Regions from separate parts of the Homo sapiens genome. Here all the other regions are linked to region 4. The links are contacts of gene promoters, found by promoter capture Hi-C in human tissues and cell types (Jung and others, 2019). All regions are on one chromosome and are shown on one strand. The core of a region is centred on a gene start or on the middle of the fragment in contact, and the rest is flanking DNA. Distances in the headings are between cores, read along the strand shown.

What was found. Contacts are between HindIII fragments. The study calls those that stand out against the background at their distance.
Region 1: a contact is called between a fragment that was not itself captured here and the fragment with the promoter of CARS2 in region 4, in 1 of the 25 tissues and cell types used here (neural progenitor cells).
Region 2: a contact is called between a fragment that was not itself captured here and the fragment with the promoter of CARS2 in region 4, in 1 of the 25 tissues and cell types used here (mesenchymal stem cells).
Region 3: a fragment that was not itself captured here is called in contact with the fragment with the promoter of CARS2 in region 4 in 2 of the 25 tissues and cell types used here (IMR-90 fibroblasts and thymus).
Region 5: a contact is called between a fragment that was not itself captured here and the fragment with the promoter of CARS2 in region 4, in 1 of the 25 tissues and cell types used here (stomach).
Region 6: a fragment that was not itself captured here is called in contact with the fragment with the promoter of CARS2 in region 4 in 3 of the 25 tissues and cell types used here (dorsolateral prefrontal cortex, heart right ventricle and mesenchymal stem cells).
Region 7: a contact is called between a fragment that was not itself captured here and the fragment with the promoter of CARS2 in region 4, in 1 of the 25 tissues and cell types used here (lymphoblastoid cells).

What each region holds. Positions count from the first base shown.
Region 1 is chr13:110,483,660-110,486,359 of GRCh38, reverse strand. It overlaps COL4A2 (collagen type IV alpha 2 chain), which reads right to left. Exons shown (of 48, transcript NM_001846.4): 33 at 1,333-1,455; 34 at 524-705. Among named protein-coding and RNA genes, the nearest start is that of COL4A2-AS2, 22 kb to the right of the region's middle. RefSeq lists enhancers at 1-450, 451-1,288, 1,289-2,127. The HindIII fragment of the contact is 6,661 bases long and covers 1-2,700 here.
Region 2 is chr13:110,541,896-110,544,595 of GRCh38, reverse strand. The region is part of intron 1 of RAB20 (RAB20, member RAS oncogene family); the gene reads left to right. Among named protein-coding and RNA genes, the nearest start is that of RAB20, 18 kb to the left of the region's middle. The HindIII fragment of the contact is 3,610 bases long and covers 1-2,700 here.
Region 3 is chr13:110,857,264-110,859,963 of GRCh38, reverse strand. No RefSeq gene overlaps it. Among named protein-coding and RNA genes, the nearest start is that of PRECSIT, 12 kb to the left of the region's middle. The HindIII fragment of the contact is 3,127 bases long and covers 1-2,700 here.
Region 4 is chr13:110,704,682-110,707,381 of GRCh38, reverse strand. It overlaps CARS2 (cysteinyl-tRNA synthetase 2, mitochondrial), which reads left to right and starts at 1,266. Exons shown (of 15, transcript NM_024537.4): 1 at 1,266-1,512; 2 at 1,811-1,861. The coding sequence starts at 1,289. RefSeq lists enhancers at 339-458, 469-848 and a silencer at 899-1,458. The HindIII fragment of the contact is 14,015 bases long and covers 1-2,700 here.
Region 5 is chr13:110,517,656-110,520,355 of GRCh38, reverse strand. No RefSeq gene overlaps it. Among named protein-coding and RNA genes, the nearest start is that of COL4A2-AS1, 11 kb to the right of the region's middle. RefSeq lists an enhancer at 1,697-2,533. The HindIII fragment of the contact is 5,926 bases long and covers 1-2,700 here.
Region 6 is chr13:110,836,237-110,838,936 of GRCh38, reverse strand. No RefSeq gene overlaps it. Among named protein-coding and RNA genes, the nearest start is that of LINC00567, 25 kb to the right of the region's middle. The HindIII fragment of the contact is 6,636 bases long and covers 1-2,700 here.
Region 7 is chr13:110,944,671-110,947,370 of GRCh38, reverse strand. It overlaps LOC105370364 (a long non-coding RNA gene), which reads left to right. Exons shown (of 3, transcript XR_931732.3): 3 at 1,822-1,915. Among named protein-coding and RNA genes, the nearest start is that of LINC00431, 20 kb to the left of the region's middle. The HindIII fragment of the contact is 5,736 bases long and covers 1-2,700 here.

The DNA of each region.
Region 1 (2,700 bases), core at 20-2,519, 220 kb after region 4:
GAAGGTGTGGAGAAGAGAGCCCTGCCCAGGGTCAGGGCTCACCATTGTTACCATCACAACAGCGTGTCTGGCCCATGTCAAGTGCTCAACAGACATCCGCTGAACAAAGGCTGAGTGAACGGTGGCCCGGATGGGAAGCCAGGCTGCCGGGCCCAGGTCTACGCTGTGATTCGGCCATGGGCTCTCAGGCCTGGTGTCACTGATGTGCTCAATTTTAGAGCTCTGATCCCTGAAAATTCAAGTTTTGTTCTCTCAAGGCCACCATGAAAAATGCAGACAACATGCTTCACCCAGCACAAGCCCACAGAAGGGCCACGGCAGCCGGTTGGACTCACATCACATCTGCATGGTGTCCAAGTGCAGCAGCTCCTTCCAGGGCTGTGTGGACCCCACCAAGCCTGAGGCTGCCCTGAACCTGCCACTGACACTCTCACCCTAGCAAATTCCAGACCAAAGCATGTCCATTCACAAGCAAAGGGGAGAGGAGCTCACAGAACAAGGGGAGTAAAAGACGCCCACTCACCCGGCTTCCTATGAATCCTGGGAATCCCGTAATTCCAGGGGGGCCAGCCACCCCAGGGAATCCTGGCAAACCGGGGATGCCGGGGACTCCGATGTCTCCCTTGACTCCTTTGATGTGGCCGGGCCTCCCAGGCAGCCCAGGGATTCCTGACAGCCCTGGGATGCCTGGCATTCCTTGGATACCTGCAGGAAGACCCTGGTGTGTAACACTCTGGTGAGGACGCAGCACCCGCCCTCCAGTTTTCAATTTTGCAGCCTGGATGCATTTTGCTGTCCTACGTGCTGTGAATCTTTTTTTTTTTTTTTTTTTTTTTTGAGACGGAGTCTCGCTCTGTCGCCCAGGCTGGAGTGCAGTGGCGCAATCTCGGCTCACTACAAGCTCTGCCTCCCCGGTTCACGCCATTCTCCTGCCTCAGCCTCCTAAGTAGTTGGGACTACAGGCGCCCACCACCATGCCGGCTAATTTTTTTGTATTTTTAGTAGAGACGGGGTTTCACCGTGTTAGCCAGGATGGTCTTGATCTCCTCACCTTGTGATCCACCCGCCTCGGCCTCCCAAAGTGCTGGGATTACAGGCGTGAGCCACCGCGCCCGGCCAGTGCTGCAAATCTTAAGATGGGAAACCGAGGTTACTCAGGCATCAGAGAACAACCCTGCGCCAGCTATGGACACACAGGGCGCCCAGAGATGAAAAGCACGAAGAAAGCCAGGTGGAGGGCACGGGCGTCTCTGGGGACGGAGAAGGGCACGAGCTGGTGCGGGCTGGGGCGGCAGGGACTAGGGGCCCCTGGCTGCAGGTCAGAAGCCTCACCTTTTGCGCCCAGGTATCCTTTCAGCCCCATAGGCCCTTCATCTCCTTTCTCTCCTTTAATGTCTTTCATTCCTGGCAGGATGACAGGAGGTGGTCCTGGGGGCCCAGGGTCCCCTCGGCTGCCTGGAAGGGAATAGAGTGCTGTCATTTTCTGGGGGCTCCAGACCACGCAGGAGAACACAGGTGAAGGCCTGGTCCCTGAGCCATAGGGCTGCACGTCTCCCCCAAGCAGGGAAGCCTTGGAGAGAGACCAAGGGCGCCGGAGAAGCCTCTCCTGTGTCCATCGGAGTAGTTGGAGTTGGGGGTGGCTCCAGGGTCCTGGGCCTGGGGCTGGTGTCACTGAGCACACAGCACCACAGTAGGGGGACGTGCCTGCCAGCAGATGCAGAGGGAGCGGTCAAAGCCAGTGTGACTCCCATAGGATGCTTTGTGAGAAGGTCATTTTGTTGTGTGTGCTCTGATGAGACCATGATGGACCTCGGTCACAAGCAGGAAGGCCCGTGAGGCAGGCGCCAGCTCCGTGCCCTCCTGTAGGCACCTTCACAGGGAGGAGAAGCATGGAAGGGAGGTCTCCGGGGGGTTCTGAGGAGCTGAGAAATTGCAGGAGGGGAGGGGCCCAGAGCTGCGGGCCGGGCGGGAAACTGTGCTAGTTCAGGCTGGGGATGCCCCGGAATCCATGCTCACTGGAGGAGTAAGTGAAATCTGGCTCAGTGAAAATAATTGAGCTTCAGTCTCTAAGCATTTACTGTGTATTCAGTACTAGGCTAGAGGCTGATGGGATCAAAATCATAAATTGGTCCTGACCCCACAGAGCGTGCCCACCAGTGGAGGGACAGACACCCCCATGGTTAACTTCACCCTAAGGAGGCTCGAGGAAATAATTACCATGGAGCTGAAAATTACTTAATCTTAAAATGTCATTTTTTTTTTTTGCCTGAAATAGCCTGAAATCTCTGCTAACAGGAAGACTATTTGAAAGCACAAGTGTGAGTAAAAATCTTAAAAAAAATGAGCACCCTAGATTGCAATTTTTATTTTGCTGAAAATTTGTAAAAGCTGTAAGTCTGAAGAGTAATTAAGGTTTTCCAAAACAGCTTATTGATGTATAATTTATATACCCTACAACTCGCTCCAGTAAACAGAACAATTACATAACTTTAGTGTACTCACAGAGCTGTGAGCAAGCAGCACCGTCTAACTTGAGAACACTTTATCCCAGAAAATGAAACCCTGGAGCCGCTGGCAGCCATGCCCTAATTCTCCCCTAACCCTTCAGCTTTAGGAAACTGCGAATCCATCGCTTCTCGGCCTTTTGGCTAAGATCAAGTGTAGGAAACTGCGAATCCACTTTTCATTTCTGTAAACTTG
Region 2 (2,700 bases), core at 181-2,680, 160 kb after region 4:
TCATTGCATGAGTTTAACGTGTCTTTATTTTTACATCTGTATTAGAGTCATGATTTTGCCCTTTTTGGAAAATTATTTTTTAACATGTGTCAAGGTAGAATTGCTTTAAAATCCCACTCATAGATTCAATGCAATCACTATCATAATTCCAATGGCATTTTTTACAGAAATAGAAAAAAATTCTAAAATTTATGTGGAACCACAGAAGACCCAAAATAGCCAGCAAAATTCTTGCTCAATTTTGAGCAATAATAAAGCTGGAAGCATCACACTGCCTGACTTCAAAATATGCTACAAAGCTATAGTAATCAAAACAGCATGACCTCAGCATGAAAACAGACACATTGACCAATGGAACAGGGTAGAGTGCCCAGAAACAAATCCACACGTTTACTGTTAGTTGATCTTTGACAAAGATGCCAAGAACCTTTGGGGGAAAGGACAGCCTCTTCAATAAATGGTACCAGGGAAACTGGATATCCATATGCACAACGAAACCAGACCCTTGTCTCACACCATATACAAAAATCAGGCTGGGTGCCTGTAATCCCAGCATTTTGGGAGGCTGACGTGGGTGGATCGCTTAAGTCAGGAGGAGTTTGAGACCAGCCTGGCCAACAAGGTGAAACCACATCTCTACTAAAAATACAAAAATTGGCCGGGTGTGGTGGCAGGTGCCTGTAATCCTGCTACTCAGGAGGCCAAGGCAGGAGAATCAGTTGAACCTGGGAGGCAGAGGTTGCAGTGAGCCGAGATCGCACCACTGTACTCCAGCCTGGGTGACAGAGTGAGACTCCGTCTCAAAAAAAAAAAAAAAAAAATAACCCACATTTGATTAAAGAGTCAAGCATAAGACCTGAAACTATAACTATTAGAAGAAAACATAAGAAAAAAGCTTTGCAGTATTGGTCTGGCTAATGATTCTTTTTTATGTGACTCCAGAAAGCACAGAGAACAAAAGCAAAAATAGACAAATGGGATTGCATCAAACCAAAAAGCTTCTGCAGAACAGAAGAAACAACCAACAGAATAAAGAGAGAACATCCAGAATGGGAGGAGATATTTGGAAAGCATACAGCTGATAAGGGATTAATATCCAAAATATATAAGGAACTCAAACAACTGAGTAACAAGAAAACAACCAGATTAAACAATGAGCAAAGGGCCAGGTGCCGTGGCTCTCACCTATAATCCCAGCACTTTGGGAGGCCGAGGTGTCAGAGGATCACTTGAGGCCAGAAGTTCAAGAACAGGCTGGGCAACATAGTGAGACCCTGTCTCTACAAAAAAATAAGAAAAATTAGCCAGGGGAGGTGGTGCACATCTGTAGTCCCACCTACGTGGGAGGCTGAGGCAGGAGGATCGCTTGAGTTTGAGGTTACAGTGAGCCAAGATCACACCACCGCACTCTAGCCTGGGTGACAGAGTGAGACTTTGTCTCTAAAATAAAAATAAAAAAAAATAAAATGAGCAAAGGTCCTGAACTGAATAGACATTTCTCAAAAGAAGACATACAAATGGCCAACAGGTATATGAAAAAATGTTCAATATGACTAATTGCAGAGACAGCCAAGTTAGCAGTACAGTGAGCTGTCAGGTCGCACCTGTTAGAATGGCTGTCATCAGAAAGACAAAGGGTAAGTGCTGGTGAGGATGTGGAGACAAGAGAACCCCGCACATTGCTGGTGGGAATGTGAACGGGTATGGCCGCGGTGGAAGACATGATGGTTCCTCAAAAAATTAAAACTAGAACAAATGATCCAGCAGTCCCACTGCTGGGTATCTGTCTAGAAGAAAGGAAATCAGTATTTCTCAGAGATGTCTGCACTCCCGTGTTCACAGTAGCCAAGATACAGAATCAACCTAAGCTTCCACTGATGTGCACGGATCAAGAAAATGTGGTAAATATACACCGTGGAGTATTATCCAAGCTTGGAAAAGGGAGAAATCCTGTTGTTTGTGAACCCGGAGGACATCATGGTAAGTGAAATAAACCAGATACCGAAAGACAAATACCACATAGTCTCACTGATGCCTGGCATCTGAACAAGTTGAACTCACTGAAGCAGAGTGGAATGGTGGTTACAAGGAGCTGGCAGGTGGGTGGGGAGAGGGAATTGGGGAGTTTTTAATCAAAGGCTACGAAGGTTCAGTTCTGCAGGCTGAATAAGTTCTGGAGGTCTAATGTAGAGCCCCAGGCAGGTGACTGTAGTTAACCAGTACCATGTGATAGGCTTGAAATTGGCTGAGAGGGTGGAGTTTCAATGTTCTGTCTGCACACCCATGGTAGCTATGTGCAGTGATAGATGTGTTAATTAGCTTAATAGGGTAATCATTTCATGATACATCAAAATATCATGTTGTACATCTGAAATATTTACAAATTTTGCTTGTCATTTATACCCCAGTAAAGCTGAGAATAAAATACAGCAAGCGTTCTGATTAAAAACAAAACAAAACTCGTCATCCTGCATGTTGTGCACATGTACCCTAAAACTTAAAGTATAATAATAATAAAATTAAAACAAAACAAAACAAAAACAAAACCAACAAACACCCTTATTATTTGGCAGTTCCTTCCCCAGGCTGTTTGCACCCCGTTCCTGCTGATGGTGGCCACTGGTTACTGTCTCCGTGTGTGAGCATCTGGGGTCTCTGATTCCAGATGTGTGAAATGTGGACACAGTGGGGAGAAAGAAA
Region 3 (2,700 bases), core at 165-2,664, 150 kb before region 4:
TCCAAATTAAGGGAAACAACAAAAACCTTACAGCAGGCATCACACTGAATATAGCAAAATGTTGATAGTGTTCTGAGATTAGGAACAAACAAGAATGCTCACCTACCCACATATGTTCACCTTTTACTGGAGGTTTTTCCTGGTGCAATAAGGTGAGGAAATAAAAATGATTGGGTAGGAAAAAAAATTCTATTAGTGGATGATATGATTTTGTATGTAGAAAGCTTAAAAGACTTCAAATATAATTAGAATTAATAAGTGAGTTTAAATCATTTATGGGTGCAGGGTCAACATTTTTTTTTTGCGATAGGGCCTCACTCTGTCACCCAGGCTGGAGTGCAATGGTGTGACCAGAGCTCACTGCAGCCTTGACCTCCGGGGCTCAAGCAATTCTCCTACCTCAGCCTCTGGAGTAGCTGGGACTACAGATGCACACCACAACGCCCAGCTATAGGGTCAACTTTTTTTTTTTTTAGTTGTATTTCTATACACCAGTAACAAACAGAAACCTCAGTTTAATCAGGAACGCCAGTTTTAAAAACATCGACTATCAAATATATTTAACATAAGGTATGCAATAGTTCTGTGCAGAAACAGCATTATTGTGAGAAATAAATACTAAATAAATGGAGGAGATACTGAATTGAAAAGATGATGTCATAAAGAAGTTAGTTCTCCCTGAATGATGCTCAGGTAGCTGAAATTGCAATGGAAATAAATATCAATGGATTTTTACAGGCAGTTGTGTGGGGAATGATCTCCATGCAAGCATGCTCTCAAGGTCACTCTCAGATAGGTGATCCCAGAGGCCACAAAACACACAGCCTCAGAGCAAATGAAGACAAATGAACCCTTCACTTTATTACTCCCATTTAAAGCATGTAGTGAGAAGAAGGGGATGCTCTGGGCTCAGCACAAGCAGCATGCGGGCAGGGGATACAGAGGCCCCACCTGGAGTCTCTGCTGCCTCAACCAGACAGTCCCCTGACTGCCTGGGTGTGAGTCCAGGGCTTGAGGTTGGTCCTGGGTTGATGAAAACACTTGCTCTTGGACAGCACAGATCCAACCTAGAGTAACTTATGGAACAAGTGACCTAGTTCCTTCAGCAAATAAATTGCTGAGGAAAATGAGTAAAATATAGGGGTGAACTGATATTAAAAGAGCCTTAGGAGATGTGTCAGCCAACGGCAATGCAGGGAGCTTTTCTGGACCTCACTTCAAACAAACTAAAATCAAAGCATTTGTGAGACAAGTGGGGAAATTTGAACCCTAGATACTTAATGATATTAATAAATTATTGTTAATATTGATCTGTATTTTAGGAGTCCTTATCTTTCCATGATATGTACTGAAATACTTATAAATGGTGTTTGAAATTTTTGTAAAATTTTTTAACTTGAATTTTTAAAAAATAAGAGCTTTTGATCATCAAAATGCAATATTAAGAGAATAGAAGGGCAAGCCAGGAAATGGAAGAAACATATGTAACTGACAAGAAGATTGCATCAGGAGTTTATATTACAATCTCATATGTCAATTAGAAAAAGACAAACAATCCATAATAAAATATGTAAGAGGCTTGAACAGGCACTTCACAAAAAATGAACAAATAAATAGAAGTATCCAGTTGGCCAATAATCATATTGATGGATGATCCATTTCATCATTAAGTAGTGAGAGAAATGCAGATTAAACCACACCAAGGTATCACTTTACACCCACCAGAGCAGCTAAAATTAAAAACACTGACATTATCAAATGCTGATAAGGATATAGCAATGGGAACTCTAATACACCCTTGGTCAGAGTGTAAATTGTAAAGCCATTTTGGGAAACAGTTGAACATTATTTCCTGACATTTAACATACACTTCCCTGTGACCTAGCAATTCTCCTCCTAAACATTTATTTAACAGAGAAATATGCAGATCTGCAACAGCAGACATGTCCAAGAACGTTCATAGTTCCATTAGTCCCAACACCCTAAAACTGGAAACAGCCCCAATGTCCGTCAAAAGTAAAATGAATAGAGAAATTGTAGCATGTGCATACAATGGAATACGGAACTATAATGGAGTTATCTTTTAAGAAAAATGGAAGAAGTCCAACTATACCCAGTAATAAATATAGTCTTATAAGCATAAGGTTAAGCAAAAGAAGCTTAACACAAAATAATTTATGCAGTTCCATTTTCATAAAGACAAGTACAGGAAAGGTTAGGATATGCTGTAGTGTTCCCCCAACATAGGCTAAATGTCATCTGCCTTTTCAATGGTTTCTTAGGTTTCACAGGCTCCATTTCTTCACCATCTGATCTCTTCCCCCTGCACAAGCACCCCATGTGTCTGACCTCCTCACAGAAAACACCATTTCCTGAGTGTGGTCTGACCAGAGAAAAGCATGTGGTGACAGAAAAAAGCAGGTTTTCACACTGCTGATAACAACCTACCTAAGACTGGGCAATTTACAAAAGGAAGAGTTTTAATTGGACTTACCGTTCCATATGGCTGGGGAAGCCTTACAATCACGGTGGAAGGCAAGGAGGAGCAAGTCACATCTTACATGGATGGCAGCAGGCAAAGAGCCAGAACTTGTGCAAGGAAACTCCGCCTTATAAAGCCATCATATCTCATGAGACTCATTCACTATCATGAGAACAGCACAGGAAAGACCTGCCCCCATGATTCAATTACTTCCCATC
Region 4 (2,700 bases), core at 17-2,516:
AGCCACTGCGCCTGGCCCAATAGAGGCACGTTTGTCAAGCTATTGTGAGTAACTTTCAGAATGTTTTTGTTCTCAAGATACGGGATCATGGTGGGGGAGGCATGCTGTGTATTGGAGTGCAGACATGGTGTGTGTTGGGTTGCACACTGTGTATTGGGGTGCACACTGTATTGGGGTGTAGATGTGTGGGGGCGCACACTCTATTGAGGTGCACATTGCATTGGAATGCAGACAGTGTTTGCTGGGATGCACATGTGCTGTGTTGGGGTGCACACTGTACTGGGGTGCAGACATGGTGTGTGTTAGAGTGCACAGTGTATTAGGGGTGCACACTGTATTGGGGTGTACACTGTACTGGGGTGCAGACATGGTGTGTGCTGGGGTGCACACTGTATTGGAGTGCACACTGTATTGGGATGCTGATGTGGTGTGTGCTAGGGTGCATACTGTGTATTGGGGTGCAGACTGTATGCTGGGTTGCACACTGTGTATCGGGGTGCACTGTGTTGGGATGCTGATGGTGTGCTGCAGTGCACACTATTGGGGTGCAGATGTGTGTGCTGGGGTGCACACTGTATTGGGGTGCACACTGTATTGGGATGCTGATGTGTGTGCTGGGGTGCATACTGTGTATTGGGGTGCACACTTCTTGGGGTGCAGACTGTGTGTTGGGTTGCACATTGTGTATCGGGGTGCACTGTGTTGGGATGCTAACGGTGTGCTGCAGTGCACACTGTATTGGGGCGCAGATGTGTGTTTGGGGTGCACACTGTATTGGGGTGCACACTGTATTGGGGTGCTGACGTGTGTTCTGGGGTGGACACTGTGTATTAGCGTGCTGACGTGGGCTGTGCTGGGATGCACACGTGCTTCGCTAACAGGCCAGGGCCCGGCAACAGAAGCTTGCACTGTAAACGCTCCTCCCGCGCGGCGGACACAGCTCCAGGCTGGTACCGCGCGCACACGGACGCCTCGCAGGACCTGGGCTAATAAGGAGAGGAGATCGGCACGGTACCGCCTCTTCCCACGGCCTCCCGGCGCGGCACCGCCCTCCTCCCTCCACCCCGGGCCTTCCCCGCCCCAACCTCTTCGGGCCCTGGTTCTCCACCCTTGCCGCGGGCGACTCGAGCCAGGCCAAAGGGAGGCGCTACCTGAGGACTGCTTCCGGGAGTGGGCGTGGCCCCAAGGGCGTGGGCGGGGCGGGGCGGGGCCGTGCTGCTCTTGAGCGACCGGCAGCGTACCCGGCGTGGCTCCCGTCTCCGCCCAGTCGTAGGCGCTGGCCGCTGACATGTTGAGGACTACGCGCGGCCCAGGCCTGGGCCCCCCGCTGCTCCAGGCCGCGCTGGGCCTTGGGCGGGCTGGGTGGCACTGGCCTGCGGGCCGGGCGGCGAGCGGGGGGCGCGGGCGGGCCTGGCTGCAGCCCACGGGCCGGGAGACGGGTGTGCAGGTGTACAACAGCCTCACCGGGAGGAAGGAACCCCTAATCGTGGCGCACGCCGAAGCCGCCTCCTGGTGGGCCGCGCGGGACTGGGGCACGGGCGGGGGCCGATCGTGGCGGAGACTTCCCACGGCTGAACGGGATCTGGGCTCGGGGAGGGCGTTTAGGAAGCTGCATGGAGGGCGCCGTTCTAGAAGCTGGGGGTGCGCGGTGCTTTTGCAGGTTTGGGTGTGAATTGAGCAAGTATGAAAACCCCGGCTATTCATCCCCCAGAAGTGATTACTTTAAAAATTATATGATCATTATAACTCAGAATCGAATGTCCTTTCTTGCAAATATGTTCCACACGATGGATTTTAACTTTGTTTCCAGGTATAGCTGTGGACCAACTGTATATGATCATGCGCACCTTGGCCATGCTTGGTGAGTTTCCTGGATTTGAATTTTCATACTTCAAAGGACCATTTATTTTTGAAAGCCTTTTGCTGATTTCTTTTATCTCTTAAGTGGCAACTTAGGGATGCAGAATAATTCCTACATTCCAGGCATTGTGGGAAATGTTACAACCTCATTTGGTTCTTATAGGGATTCTGAGCACTTACACCCGTTTTACAGGTGAGGAAACTCAGGGAGACAATGGAGCACTGAAAAATGACCCGTTTTGGAACTAGATGTTTTTTGCTGGGTTTAGTGACATCAAGAGGCCTTTGCGGGGTCCCGGGGTCCTGCTGATCAGTCATTCCTGGGCCCCACCACTTCTTAGCTTCACAGCACTGAGCAGGTCACTTTATTGCTTTGAGTCCTGGTTTCTTCATCTTTGAGATGGGAATGATAACTTGGATCTTATAACAATTTTAGTAAATAATGCCCATAAAATGCTGCTTAACACTGTACCTCACATGTGAGATGTCACGGGGCTCAATAGTGATTGAGTAACTTTCCTAAGATGACACATTGAAGAGGTATTGGAACTGGGGTGAGGCTTGGTTTCTCTGACTGCGAAGTGGTTGCTCTCTTGACCTCTTTAACTGTAAGATGTACTGCCTCCTACATTTGCCAAAATTACCACTTTTCCTAATATTTTGTACATTTCCAAAATATAATGTACAAAAATGACATATTATAGATTTTTTAAAACTTAGTATTGTTCAGTCCTAGACTAAAAGTAAAAAGTTACATTTACTCTGTATACTTTTTTTTTTTCTTGAGACGGAGTCGCTCTGTCGCCCAGGCTGGAGTGCAGTGGTGCAATCTCGGCTCAC
Region 5 (2,700 bases), core at 145-2,644, 190 kb after region 4:
CCCAGCACACGGGTTCCCTCCCCAGCACACGGGTTCTCTCCCCAGCACGTGGATTCCCCCAGTACATGGATACCACCAGCACATGGATCCCCCCAGCACATAGGTCCCCCCAGCACACAGGTTCTCCCCAGCACACGGGTTCCCTCCCCGGCACACGGCTTCCCTCCCCAGCACACGGATCTCCCCAGCACACGGGTCTCCCCAGTACATGGATCCCCCCAGCACGTAGGTCCCTCCAGCACACAGGTCCCTCCAGCACACGGCTCCCCCCCAGCACACGGATCCCCCCAGCACACGGATACCACCAGCACACGGGTTCCCCCTCCCCCAGCACACAGATCTCCCTAGTATACGGGTCCCTCCAGCACACGGGTCCCCCTAGCACACGGATCCCCATAGCACACGGGTGCTCCCAGCACATGGATCCCTCCGGCAGAGGTGAGCTGCTGCTCAAGGCCCATGAGACAGACCCCATGAGACATGGAGATGGTGCCTGTCTTCCAGAGAGAAGGGGCAATGGCTCTGAGCTCGGCCTTCACTCCGTGCTCCTGGGAGACTCTAACCAGGCTGAGTCCCTCCTGAGCAATGACCACAAACCTCTGAAGAAGGAAGAAGAGTGGGACCCGGGCCCCAGAGACCCTGGTGGGAGTGCCGTGGTGTGGCCTCCAGGTGTTTGGAGGATTTCAAAGGCACAGATCCTCCCAGCCCTGGTTGGTGGAGTCCAGGTCGTATCTTCCCTTCTGTGGCCAGGCAGAGTGGCCGGTGCCCTCGTCCTCTTACATGCCCTTATTAGAAGCACAGACTCTTCTCCACAGTGTGCAGGGGTCTTCCATCCTCCCACTTCACAGAGCTGGATCTTTCGAGCCTCATTGTCGAAACAGGACAGAGAGGATGGGTGTGGTGGGTGGACGCACAGCTGAGACCCTGCTCACACAGCTGAGACCCTGCACACACGCACAGCTGAGACCTTGCTCACACAGCTGAGACCCTGCATGCACGCACAGCTGAGACCCTGCACGTGCGCACAGCCGAGACCCTGCATGCATAGCCAAGACCCTGCACGCACAGCAGAGACCCTGCACGCACAGCAGAGACCCTGCACACATGCACAGCTGAGACCCTGCTCACACAGCTGAGACCCTGCATACACAGTCGAGACCCTGCACACACGCACAGCTGAGACCCTGCTCACACAGCTGAGACCCTGCATGCACGCACAGCTGAGACCCTGCACGCACGCACAGCCGAGACCCTGCACGTGTGCACAGCCGAGACCCTGCATGCATAGCCAAGACCCTGCACGCACAGCAGAGACCCTGCACATACATGTGCCGCCTGCACTCAGCCTCCTCTGTGCCTGCTCTGGAAGCTCTTGGGCCCAGTCCTCCCTTGTGGTCCAGGCTGCCTCCTTCAGGGAGAGCTGACGCCTTCAGAGCAAGCGTCCTTGCGTGGTTATGAAGCTCTGTGTCCCTCCCCTTCACTTTGTGTTTGCCTTGAAGCCACTGGCCCAGCCCTCAGGTATCGGATCTGGAGGGCACCTTGCTGGAGGATATGTGGACCCAAGGCCCGAGAAGGTGCCTCCTGGGTCAGGGTGTCAGTGGCCGGAGTGAGACACGCCCAGGCCTTGGCTCCCAGCCCCACCCACTTCCTCACCAGGCCCTCCCAGCTCAGTCTACGTTGGCTGTTTTCTTGGGATGTCATTGTGGAAGGTCCTGCCTGGGGCATGGCGGCTTGGGAATCTGAGCCTCGGACTTTCAATGCCACGTTCCAGTTGCTGCCATGTGTTTCCTCCCCTAAAGGTGGGCTTGGTTGTTCGGGCTGCAAATGGTGGATACCCACGGATCCAGGACAAGCCTCAGCCCCTTTTTTTATCCTCCATCCAGATTTTCCCACCGGGAGAAGGCATGGGGGCCTGGAATGCTGTCTCTTGGGAGCTGGTCTCAGTTAAGTAACCAGGGTTGGCTCGTGCCTGCTCTTGGTCTGAAGGTGGCAGGCCTGGGACTGGCCACTGTCATCCCCAGTAGCACTTCCAAACCCCCTCCCTCAGCCTCACTGCGTGGCGACCTCATTCACCAGCCCCTGTGTGGCGGGCGGCTCCCATGGCCAGGGGCGAGCTCTCTCTGCTTTGAGGGAGGTGTGAGAGCCCCCTGGACAGAGTCCTCATAATCTGAATGCAAGAATTCCTTTCCCAGGAATCCTGCAGATAAAATGGATTATGTTTGTGAGTGTACAGTTAAGAATAAGCCAGCTCAAGGCAAAAGAATGGGTCCCACCCAGAGGAGAAGCGGGGTCCTGTCCCATGTGGGATGAAATGGCCTCTGCAGGAATGGCTCCAGCTTTAGGGCTGGTTTATGCCGTCACAGGACCCACATCTTCTAAGTGGCCTCCACCCCATCTGCCCTTTGTTCTTGTACTTTGGCCATAAATGCGAGGAGAAGGTCCCTGAGTCACCCTTGCATGTGGCAAGGTCCTCTCAAGTGTGAATCTGCAGGTGGGGTGGGGGAAGAGGGCTCCTGGGTGTATTTTAAACTCGGGAAGACAGCAGTCCCCTCCTGCCCCATCCCATGTGGCTTTGCAGCTGCAGCCTCTCATCTCTAAGTGTTCCTGGCCTCTGAGAAGAACCTAGTTAATTAAAATGGGCTTGTACAATGAAATTGTGAAATACCCCTCAGGTGCAGGGACTCTCGAGTATGTGGAAAT
Region 6 (2,700 bases), core at 162-2,661, 130 kb before region 4:
TTTCTTATTTCATATTTTCTATCTATCCATCCATCTATTGATCTACCTACCATGTCTCTGTCATCTGTTCATCATCCGTACTATCTTCTGAATCATTGGAGAGAGTGAGTGGCAGGCATAATTTATCGCTAAATTTGGGCCTTCTTTTACATTTCCTGGTACAAATATCAATGTCGGAAAATTTAACATTGACATAAAATGAATACCTAACATATAGCCCATATTCAAATTTCACCACTTGTTCCACTGTTATTTTCAGCAATTTTGAGAAGGCTCCAATCCAAGGTTGTGCATCGTAGTTGGTTGCTGGTTGTTTTTTGTTTGTTTTCGTCACTTTCAACCTGTGGGACATCCTCAGCCTTTCATGGTCCCTCATGACATTGATTCTTTGTTATGAGTACAGACCAGTTATTCTGTAGAATGTCCTTCAGTTTGGGTTTGTCTGAAGTTCCCTCATGATTGGATCAGGTTATCTATTTTTGGCTGGAATCGCCAACGGATAAACATTTGATTTATGGTGTAAATGATGTTGGGCTCCCATCAGCGCGTTGTTGTCAGAAGACACGTGGTGTTGATTTTCTCCTTACTGTTGACGTTAACTTTGATTATGTGGCTAAAATGATGTCCGCCAGCTTTTTCCACTGTAAAGTTACTGTTGTTCTATTTATAACTAATGAACAATTTGTGTCTGTGGAAGGGGTTACTTTGAAACTATTGCAAACTGTGGGGGAAAGAAAAAGAGATCAGACTGTTACTGAGTCTACGTAGAAAAAGGAAGGCATAAGAAACTACATTTTGATCTGTACTAAGAGAAATTCTTCTGCCTTGAGATGCTGTTAATCTGTGACCCTAGCCCCAACTCTGTGCTCGCAGAAACAGGTGCTGTATTGACTCAGGTTTAATGGATTTAGGGCTGTGCAGGATGTGCCTTGGTAAACATGTGTTTGTAGGCAGTATGCTTGGTAAAAGTCATCGCCATTCTCCTTTCTTGACTACCCAGGGACACAGTGTACTGTGGAAGGTCGCAGGGACCTGTGCCCAAGAAAGCCTGGGTATTGTCCAAGTTTTCCCCCAACTGAGACAGCCTGAGATATGGCCTTGTGGGAAGGGAAAGATCTTACCATCCCACAGCCCGACACCCATAAAGGGTCTGTGCTGAGAAGGATTAGTGAAAGAGGAAGGCCTCTTTGCAGTTGAGATAAGAGGAAGGCATCTGTCTCCTGCTCATCCCTGGGAATGGAATGTCTTGGTGTAAAACCCGATCATACATTCTATTTACTGAGATAGGAGAAAACTGCCTTGTGGCTGGAGGTGAGACATGCTGGCAGCAATACTGCTCTTTACTGCACTGAAATGTTTGTGTAAAGTCAAACATAAATCTGGCCTATGTGCACATCCAGGCACAGCACCGTTCCTTAAACTTATTTATGACACAGACTCCTTTGCTCACATGTTGTCCTGCTGACCCTCTCCCCACCATTACCCTACAGTCCTGCCACATCCCCTCATCAAGATAGTAGAGATAGTGATCAATAAATACTGAGGAACTCAGAGACCAGTGCTGGTGCAGGTCCTCACTTGCTGAGCGCCAGTCCCCACTTTTCTTCCTCTGTACTTTGTCTCTGTGTCTTATTTCTTTTTTCGGTCCCTCGTCTCCACCTTGCGAGAAATACCCACAGGTGTGGAGGGGCAGGCCCCCTTCAGTAAACTACAAATAACATCCTAAACCCCCCAACTGACTGAACGGACCCCTTTTTGGCCAATGGAACCCCAGAGAAACCTCAAAAACTGAGTTCCCAGCCATGATCAGGTGGGAGATTGGAGACGCCTCATTACACCCCCTTCTTTTTTCAGTTCAGACACAACTGACCAGCATTAACGTTAAAATAGAGATAGTAAAACTGATTGAATGAACTCTTTGTAACAATAAGATATCGAATTATAAACTAGACCTCAGGCCATGCCTGGCAAAGGTTAAGTCACCCACCCCTACACTTAAAGAGTAAGTCTATGTTCTACTCGCCACAAGGTATTTTTTTTAATTCCTTTTTCTCTAGCAGATAATCAAGCACTGGCCTTGAGTTAAGCAATGCTGAAGCAGCTGCAGCCCACCCACCACCAGACTCTGACTGACTGACTCCCAACTCCACCAGCTATAGCTACAGCTTTGATCGGACAAGAGACTGATTTCAGTAACTTTCTCCTGATCAGAGATCACTGACCATGGCCTGGTTCTGGCTGGTTTACAGAGGCTGCACACTCAGTGCCGTTAAGTCCCTGCCTCAAATTTTGACATACAGGTGAACATGTCATACATGGAACATATATGTTTGCTTATCATACATGCACAGAACTCCCCTTCATGAATATTCATAACCCCCTCTATATCTTGTTGAATATGTATACTCGGCCAGCCTACCCCACCCCTCCCTCCCTAGAAGTGCTTGCTTTCATTCTTTTAGCCTGAGACTGCACTTCCTGCTTGCAGGTTGTAATTCCCTTCTTAAGAAATACGGCTCTCCTTTCTAAATTTATAAAGTGTGTGATTTTAAGTTAACACCATGTAAATATGTTGCTTCTCATTACTCTTTGCAGAATAGTTTTAGTATGTATTGATGATTCTTGCTCAAGTTAAATATTAACGTGGTGTTTGCAAAATGTTGATTTTCTAACTCCGTCAGTCCTTCCAAATTTATTAAT
Region 7 (2,700 bases), core at 49-2,548, 240 kb before region 4:
CCTCCACTGGTGCTTCCCAAGCACCCACCACGTGCCAGGCACTGTCCTAGGCTCTGGGGTTTCTACATAAAACAGAGAGCCCTGCCTGGGAGCTTACCTGCTAGAGAACAGTTAGGTGGGCCTCCCTGTCCCCTCTTAAAGCATTGGGGTTCTGACTTTTCCATCCAGCCTGTCGGCTGCTGCTCCCAGCCCCTCACTGTCCACAAGCGTGGGAAGCCGGCCAGCTCGTCCTTTGTTAAAATGCCGAAGAGGACGGTCCCGGGAAGCGTCGCTGGAGACCTCCCTGCTACACCAGTTGTCATCGAGCACAGGCCAGGAGCTTCTCTGAAGTGGGGCCCCTAGCCCCCCATGTTCAGACTTTGCCAGGCCAGTGTCAGTCCCAGGACCACAAAACCCCAGGCCACAAGGTCTGCTCGTGCCCCAGCAGCAGGGACCAGGCCAACACACGCGGTGTAGAAAGGGCAGTGAGCGGTCGTTCAAGCTACAGCCAATTTCCCAGATTGTGCTGCTGTCCAGGACAACCTCTGCTGCTTTAGATACAATTTCATGATTGACCTTGTCAAGATTCCAGTTCCCTGGGACTTGACTGTTCTGCAGGGAGAACCACAAATTCTCCTATAACTCTAACAGCAAAAGACAGGGGCCTCTGCACTGATGAAGCTCCTGTACGTCACCAGCACCTCTAGGTGTGGCCGTCGGCAACAGAAGCCCCGGAGGTGACAGTGGGGACTTCCAGAGCCCTGGCAATGTTGGACAGTGAAGAACCAGGAGTCCCCAACCTCCTGGTACTGACATCCCAGGAATGAGATCCACAGCCGGCCGCTGTGAGGGGAGGAGGAGGAGGACCAGCCCAGCTCCGCCAAGCTTGGAGTTGTCAATGGGTTTTGAGGGAGAATGCAGGGGAAATGACACTGGACAGGGTGGCCCCACAGGAGAGCCAAAGGCAGCCTGACGCAGCCAGCGCCCCCTCCGTCCTCCTGCCCCGGACACATCCACAGGGCTCTCCCCTCCCTCCACAACTGAGGGCTCAGTTCCTCCTGTCCCCTGGTGTCCCCCCAATCCTGCTGGTGCCCATCTCCCCTCACACTGCACGCTGCCAGGCTCATCTGAGCCCCCACCCCCATGCCCATGCCAGCCTGGCCCTCTCTGGGCCTCTTGAATCCTAGCACACCCGGAGCACCCCCAGGGGCCATCCCAGCACCTCCCACTCAGATGACCAACCGGCCTCATTCCATTCAAGGTGCCTCTCCCTGTCTCTCCTTCCAGTCACCCAGCGCCTTCCTGGGAAACTGAAAGCAAGAATTCTGCTCCCTGAGCCCCACACCCACTCATAGAGCCAGAGGATCAGGCTCTGTTGGGGGCTGGGTGGGGCTGGAGCACAGGCTTGGAGCCGGTCTGACCTGGGTTCCAATCCCAACTTGGCCCCTATGAGCTGTGTGACCTTGGGAAGACCTTGGGCAAATGACCGCGCATCCTAAGCCTTCTTCATCTTCAAAGTGGGATAATCACAGCACCTGTACTGGGTGTTGAGGAGATGGAAGGAGATGCTGTCTGCAGAGGGTTGAGTGCAGGGCCCGGCACACAGGGAGCGCTTGGTACTCACCCCCTGCACCTGGGGAAGGCCACCCTGTGCAGCCCTAAGAAGGCATCTGTGTGGGGCGTGGACACTCAAAGAAGGGGAGTCTAATGCTACCAGCCACACCCGTCAGCCTCACAGCCCATGCTTATTGGTGGAGTGAGCCACGGTGGGTCTGAAACATAGGCTCTAAGAACAGTTAATGAAACACCCAGTTTCTCAAGAAACTCTGTTCTTTCCAACAGGAGATCATCTAAAGCAGAAGAGAAAGCTGCATGAAAGTGTACTGAGAGCCAGTTACTACAGGCGGACGCCACGCCAGGCTAGGACTAGGGCCGCCGGCAGAGCCTGCACTCTCCACTCACTCCCACCCTTGGGGCAGACGCCGAATTATGGAACATTCTGTATAAAGGAAAACTGTCTTATTCTAAGGATGACAAACAAAATAAACATATTTAAATATTAAGTTAGAGGCAACATGGTTTTTTTCCTTAATAAAAAGAGATGAAAACCTAATTAACTCTGGAAAATAACAGCATTCGAAGCTTGCTATTGTCTGATAGCATAAGCTTTGAAGAAACATAACCTCAGAGCCTGCGTATTTGTCAGCGTTCTCTAGGGAAACTAATAGGATGTGCGTGTATGTGTGCGTGTGCATGTGTGTGTGCGTGTGCATGTGTGTGTGCGTGTGTGTGGATGTGTGTGCGTGAGTGTATGTGTGGTGTGTGTGTGCATGTGTATTTGTGTGTGTGAATATATGCGTGTGTGTATGTGCGTGTGTGTGAGATATTTATAATATGGAATTGGCTCATGTGATTATGGAGGCTGACAAGTCCCAAGACCTGCAGAGTCTACAAGCTGGAGACTCAGGAAGAGCTAATGTTTCAGTTCCAGTCTTAAGGCAGGAAACAGCCCATGTCCCAGCTGCAGGCAGGCAGGAGGAGTTCCGTGTATTCAGAGCAGAGCCAGCCTCTGTCCTGTTCAGGCTTTCAGAGTTGGAGGACACCCACCACCCATCTAGGGAGCCCCGTCTGCTACAATCAAGCTACACACTCAAATGCGAATCTCTCCCAAAACACCCTTACAGACACACCCAGGAGAATGTTTGACTGAATATCTCAGGA